Regions from separate parts of the Homo sapiens genome. Here region 1 is linked to region 2. The links are contacts of gene promoters, found by promoter capture Hi-C in human tissues and cell types (Jung and others, 2019). All regions are on one chromosome and are shown on one strand. The core of a region is centred on a gene start or on the middle of the fragment in contact, and the rest is flanking DNA. Distances in the headings are between cores, read along the strand shown. Region 1 has its middle 7.1 kb from the start of RNASE8. Region 2 holds the start of PARP2 (poly(ADP-ribose) polymerase 2).

Evidence for each region. Contacts are between HindIII fragments. The study calls those that stand out against the background at their distance.
Region 1: a contact is called between a fragment that was not itself captured here and the fragment with the promoter of PARP2 in region 2, in 1 of the 25 tissues and cell types used here (dorsolateral prefrontal cortex).

The regions. Positions count from the first base shown.
Region 1 is chr14:21,049,088-21,052,384 of GRCh38, forward strand. It overlaps a transcript of NDRG2 not described here. Among named protein-coding and RNA genes, the nearest start is that of RNASE8, 7.1 kb to the right of the region's middle. The HindIII fragment of the contact is 6,049 bases long and covers 1-3,297 here.
Region 2 is chr14:20,341,896-20,345,054 of GRCh38, forward strand. PARP2 (poly(ADP-ribose) polymerase 2) reads left to right here and starts at 1,740. Exons shown (of 16, transcript NM_001042618.2): 1 at 1,740-1,792; 2 at 3,037-3,159. The coding sequence starts at 1,747. It also overlaps RPPH1. RefSeq lists enhancers at 623-722, 1,653-1,822. The HindIII fragment of the contact is 9,658 bases long and covers 1-3,159 here.

The DNA.
Region 1 (3,297 bases), core at 414-2,913, 710 kb after region 2:
GGACCACTAACTTTTGAGGGTGCCCTCTGTATTCCCTCCCATCCAAAGGATTTGATTATTGCAGCAATTGATGGAGACAGGGCTCTAGTGACATTTCCAACTTCCCCTCCTGAGATATTTAAATTAGTCCTTAGGAAGGCTTACTATCCCCTCACTTCCATCGTGGAAGCCTCTTATATTTTTCCCACCCTCTGATTCAGCTCCATTTTCTGGTTCATTTTTCATCACTCAAAACCTCCACCAACGCCTGTGACTCATGTCCAGTGGATTGGTTATAGCAGAAAAACATTGTGGTCATTACTTTCTATGGTTTTTTCATAGAAACTTAGTTGAACTTACACATTTAAAACATAAACTAACTGTGGTGTGAATTAGTACAAATTCCTGCTTGGGTCGTGGCATTTAGCACAAGATGAAATTTCCTATCTCCATGGCTTTAGGGCTCTCCCAGTAGTAATCATAACATTATAATGCTGCAAGACATCTTGTCCAGTGTTCTCGGAGATCATCTAGTCATGCCTTCCTCATGTTGCAAATGAGCAAAATAACCCTGAGGACTTAAACACTTTGCCCAAGATTACATGAATAATTTAGGCAAGAACTCGGGCTTTTTTGAACAAGCCTTGTGATATTTACAAAGTGGCATTCAATATCAAATGGATCTCAGACATCTTTCTTCTTTTTTTTTTTTTTTTGAGATAGAGTCTTGCTCTGTCACCCAGGCTAGAGTGCAGTGGCACGATCTCGACTCATTGCAACCTTGTTGAGCTTTTTGGCCTCCCAGGTTCAAGCGATTCACCTACCTCAGCCTCCTGAGTAGCTGAGATTACAGGTATGCACCACCATGCCCGGCTAATTTTTGTATTTTTAGTAAAGACTGGGTTTCACCATGTTGGTCAGGCTGCTCTTGAACTCCTGACCTCATGTTCTGCCTGCCTTGGCCTCCCAAAGTGTTGGGATTACAGGTGAGCCACTGTGCCCAGCCCAGATATCTTTCAAGATCAAATCATACATGGACTGGCAAATCAATCTGCAAATGGGCAGACCCCCGGATTTGAGACAAAAGCATGTTCATCCAAAAGAGTATTAAGTGCCCGTAATCCTGACACGTTGCATTTCTGACCTTCACCTGAATGCTCATATTGTATCATTGAGATGGGAAAAAAACAGTACATGAGGAATTGATGGCAAACTAGTCAAGCATGTCCCTGGCCGTGCCATTGGCTGCTGGAAACATAAATAAGGATATGCAACAAGAAAAAGGGCCTGGACCTCCCATCTGCTACTCCGGACCAGGGTGAAAACATTACAGAGATCCTGTTTGGTGGAGCTCCGGGTGGGCCTGAGATATCCCAAGCATTTATCTTTGGTAAGGGTTACCACTTTTTACCCTTGAATTTGGCATATCCAGAACAGGATCTTCATGGTCAACTAGAACCTGCAGAGCAATGCTTCCCAGAATTTCCCCTGAAGTGCTAGTAACCACAGAGGAAGATGAACTAAAACACCTAAAGTAGTGCCCAATGAGCTTGGGCTTTCTCTGAAGCTTCTTTCACTTAACTAATATTTATAAAATAGCCGTGCATATGAGTGTTTTATATGCTATCTTTAAATTTCATTTGTGGTAATAATAATAATGGATCAATGTCAATTTCCCCTTTTTGGTGGCTGTACTGTGGTTATGCACACGAGAGTACTTGTAATTAGGAAATAGTCACTGAAGTATTAAGGGGTAATGAGCATCATGTCTGTAACTTGTTCTGAAATAGCTCAGAAATGTTAATAATTGGGGAACTGGGTGAAGCATATAGGGGAGCTCTGTGTATGCTTTCTGAAACTTTTATATACGTTTTAAATTATTTCAAAGTGAAAATGCTAAAAAAATTTAATGTAACTCATTTGAATTTTTCTATCATACAAAGTTATTTTCTGTAAAAATAATGCCTTAAATTACTCCCCATCCCCTAAAAAGATGGTTTTAGTAAAATTGTAAAGAACACATTTATCTTGTGACTTTGTGTACCCTCTGCACACATCTGTGTTCCACCTGGGGTAGCAGTACACTGGCTCTAATGTTTTCCTTAACTTGCTCTTTGTGGATTTCTGTCTCTGACCAGTGTTTCTTTTCAAGAACTGGTTGAGGAAGATAGGGTAGTCATGGGGCTAGGGCATTGGAAAGGTCCTTTTCATGCTGAAAAATGAGAAAATAGACATAGAGCACTTGGAACAGTGACTGGAACATAGAAAAGCCTCAGTAAATGTTAACTATGATTGTTTTTATCGTTATGACCCCTATCATTCCTAGCAGGGCTGAAGGCTGCACGCAGCCTTGTTGTGGTAAGTCAGAGGTCTCAGGAGGGCAGCCGGCCTATGAGGGGAACTGGCGTATCCAGGGAGCCATATGCCTCAGCTCTGGTTGGGTTGAAGACTACATCCTCTCCCTCATGAAGATGAATCCAGGAGTGAGGAACAAAGGGAGACAGTCCTCCCGCAGAGACAAGCTCATAGTGCAAATGGGCACCATAGGAAGGCCTCAAAGAACTACATAGAAAAGAAAAATGGACCTGGCAGGAGACAGGGTTAGCCACTGGAAACAGAGGAGGGCTTCCCAAAAGGAATGTGGCCACTGGATTCCATGTGATGGAGCTCTGCTTCTCAGAGCCATAAACCAGGGCCCAGACCACAGGTCTGTCACCACCAGGAGGCTGTTTGAAGGTTGAAGCTTGAAAAACCCTATGGGGGTGGCACTTGTAGTTCAAAGACGACCCTCGTGGTACTGCTGTCCTTCAGGCCAGCAAACCAGGCAAACTTCTCTGGCACCCTCGCTCAGCCCTCCTGGGGTATCCTGAAAGAATGGGTCTTTGGGAGATAGTTGCTTATTCTCTGCTCCCCTTCTTTCAAGGCACCTTCAGAGTCTACTATTAGGCCTCTCCTTCATACTAGTAAGGTGCTGGCTACTTACTAGCACTTTGATGTTTTTTCTTGTGTCACACAAGTGTCAGAACCAGGGGGCATTTTAGACATTATTCAACTGAAACTCCTTGTGTTATAAATAGTAAGAAGACTGAGAGGATCAGAGTGATGACTGAGTTCAATGCACGGTTACTGAGTGCTCCTGTGAGCTAGCCATGTGCCTGGCACTATGAAGACAGAGAAGCACGGAAGGACCTGATTCCTGTCCCACGAGTTTACCGTCTAGTTGGGAAGACTGGATGCTCTTACTGGATGAAAGAGTTAAATAGCAAAACAAGGTAGTACACGATTTAGAACCCAAATGAGTGATACTATGAAACAGTT
Region 2 (3,159 bases), core at 490-2,989:
TGTTAGATTTATTTCCAACTACTTGATATGCTTTGGTGTTATTGTAAATGCTACCTTATCCAAAAATTTTATTTATAGTTGTTTGAAGCTCTTTTATAAGCATGGAATTTATTTTCACACGCTATTTTCTATCAGTCTTGCTAGGCTTTGTATTAAGGTAAAATTTTTATCCTGTAGTTTCTTCTAGCTTTTAAAATATTCATAATCAAATTACATGCAAATAATGAGATTTTGGGTTTTTTCTTTCTAAACTTTACATCTTTTGATGAACAAAAATTAAAATGTATCAATTTTTTTTTCTTTGTTTTTTTCAGACGGAGTCTCACTCTGTCACCCAGGCTGGAGTTCAGTGGCGGGATCTCGGCTCACTGCAACCTCCGCCTCCCGGGTTCAAGCGACTCTCGTGCCTCAGCCTCCCAAGTAGCTGGGATTACAGGCGCCCGCGACCACGCCTGGCTAATTTTTCACTTTTTTTTTTTTTTTTTTTGTAATAGAGACGAGGTTTCGCTATTTTGCTCAGGTTGCTCTATAACAGATACTATGCTATCCTAACAATATGTTTCTAAATGATATTAGTGCCAAAACCAGGATTACCCAGTGATTTTGTTAATACAGGCTTATTGAATCGGAGGGTCTGGGGTGGGGAATTTGCTTAAGTATGCAGTCCCCATACTCGGTGATTCTCATGAAGCCAAACATTTGGGCGCCCCTCACCTGATGTCACCAAGAACCAGAAGACCAATTAGAATTTTCGTGGGCTTCCTGCCCCATGGTTCCCTCTGTTCCCAAAGGGTTTCTGCAGTTTCACGGAGCTTTTCACATTCCACTCGGTTTTTTTTTTTTTGAGACTCGCTCTGTCGCCCAGGCTGGAATGCAGTGGCGCGATCTCGGCTCACTGCAAGCTCCGCCTCCCGGGTTCACGCCATTCTGCTTCAGCCTCCCAAGTAGCTGGGATTATAGGCGCCCGCCACCACGCCCGGCTAATGGCTAATTTTTTGTATTTTTTTTTTTTAGTAGAGATGGGGGGGGGTTTCACCGTGTTAGCCTGGATGGTCTCGACCTCCTGACCTTGTGATCCGCCCGCCTCGGCCTCCCAAAGTGCTGGGATTATAGGCGTGAACCACCGCGCCCGGCCCGGTTTCGTTTTGTTTTTTTTTTTTTTTTTTTTTTCCAAAAATGGGCGGAGGAGAGTAGTCTGAATTGGGTTATGAGGTCCCCTGCGGGGTACCTCACCTCAGCCATTGAACTCACTTCGCTGGCCGTGAGTCTGTTCCAAGCTCCGGCAAAGGAGGCATCCGCCGGGCCCCTCCCCGAAGGGCGGGGTCCACGGCATCTCCTGCCCAGTCTGACCTCGCGCGGAGCCCCGTTCTCTGGGAACTCACCTCCCCGAAGCTCAGGGAGAGCCCTGTTAGGGCCGCCTCTGGCCCTAGTCTCAGACCTTCCCAAGGGACATGGGAGTGGAGTGACAGGACGCACTCAGCTCGTGGCCCCACTGATGAGCTTCCCTCCGCCCTATGGGAAAAAGTGGTCTCATACAGAACTTATAAGATTCCCAAATCCAAAGACATTTCACGTTTATGGTGATTTCCCAGAACACATAGCGACATGCAAATATTGCAGGGCGCCACTCCCCTGTCCCTCACAGCCATCTTCCTGCCAGGGCGCACGCGCGCTGGGTGTTCCCGCCTAGTGACACTGGGCCCGCGATTCCTTGGAGCGGGTTGATGACGTCAGCGTTCGAATTCCATGGCGGCGCGGCGGCGACGGAGCACCGGCGGCGGCAGGGCGAGAGGTTCGGAGCTCAATATCGCGGGACGGCATGCGGGGGGCGGGCAGTCAGAAAGGAACGATGCCACCTACTGTGACCCCCTTCCCCTTCCAGCTCCCTATAACCTGCACTTGGCTACCAAACCAGTTGGGGTGCTAAATTTTGTAAATTTCGGTTTTCAGAGCTTTGGGGATTACATAATTGTGCATAAAGCCTTGCGGAGCTGTAACAACTAATGTGCCAGTACTGTTGTTAATACCTAATGTCATCCAATTTACAAAAAGTAATTGTAAGGCACACCATTATTTTATACACAACAAAGGATAAGCACTGAAAATGGTGAACTGTGATTCACTGCTTATGTCATCCATTGTAAGATGCATCCCAGTTCCAGAGAGTAAAATGCGAGTCTTAGACCTATTGAGATACGGTATTATGTGTATAATGTTCTTAAATGCATAGGTGCACCCTATAAATTAGGTTCTATTGTACTTCTCTAGAAGTACAGTATTGTACAATATTCTAATATTGGAGTAAGTGAAGTAGGAAGAGATCAAATACTTCTCCAAGTTTCCACAGAGAAAAGCAGCAGAGCTAGGCTCTAAATTAGGCACAGACCCTTGAGCACTTAACTAACCTTTATCCCATACGGCCTCATGTATGAGGTGGGTATTTGGGGGACATTGGGACACAAGTAAAACAGATAAGCAGGCCTCAATCTATGAGCTTACAAGACTCCTGGGACTCCCTTTTATTTTGTTTTATTTCATTTGGCTAGAATAGCAATTTAGGAAGAATTACACAGACTGTTACACAAAAGTAGTGTGGGACAGTTGTTATTGCCTCTGTAAACTTAGAAAATTATCTTAAACCGGCGGGGTGAGGTGGCTCACGCCTGTAATCCCTTGGGAGGCCGAGGAGGGCAGATCACTTGAGGTCACGAGTTCGAGACCAGCCTGGCCAACATGGTGAAACCCTGTCTCTACTAAAAATACAAAAATTAACTGGGCATGGTGGTGCACGCCTGTAATCCCAGCTACTCAGGAGGCTGAGGCACGAGAATCACTTGAACCCAGGAGGCGGAGGTTGCAGTGAGCCAAGATCGCACCACTGCAGTCCAGCCTGGGCGAGAGAGTGAGACTCCACCTCAAAACAAAAAAAGAGAGAAAATTATCTTAAACCATTTCTTTAAAAGATTTTTTTCAATCTTTAAAATCTACACGTATTCGGGTGTGTACTCATTCTTTGCTAATTTCCAAATTCTGTAGCATTAAATGAAAGCAAAAGAGTTAATAATGGCAACACGGCTCCAGAAGACTCTTCCCCTGCCAAGAAAACTCGTAGATGCCAGAGACAGGAGTCGAAAAAGATGCCTGTGGCTGGAGGAAAAG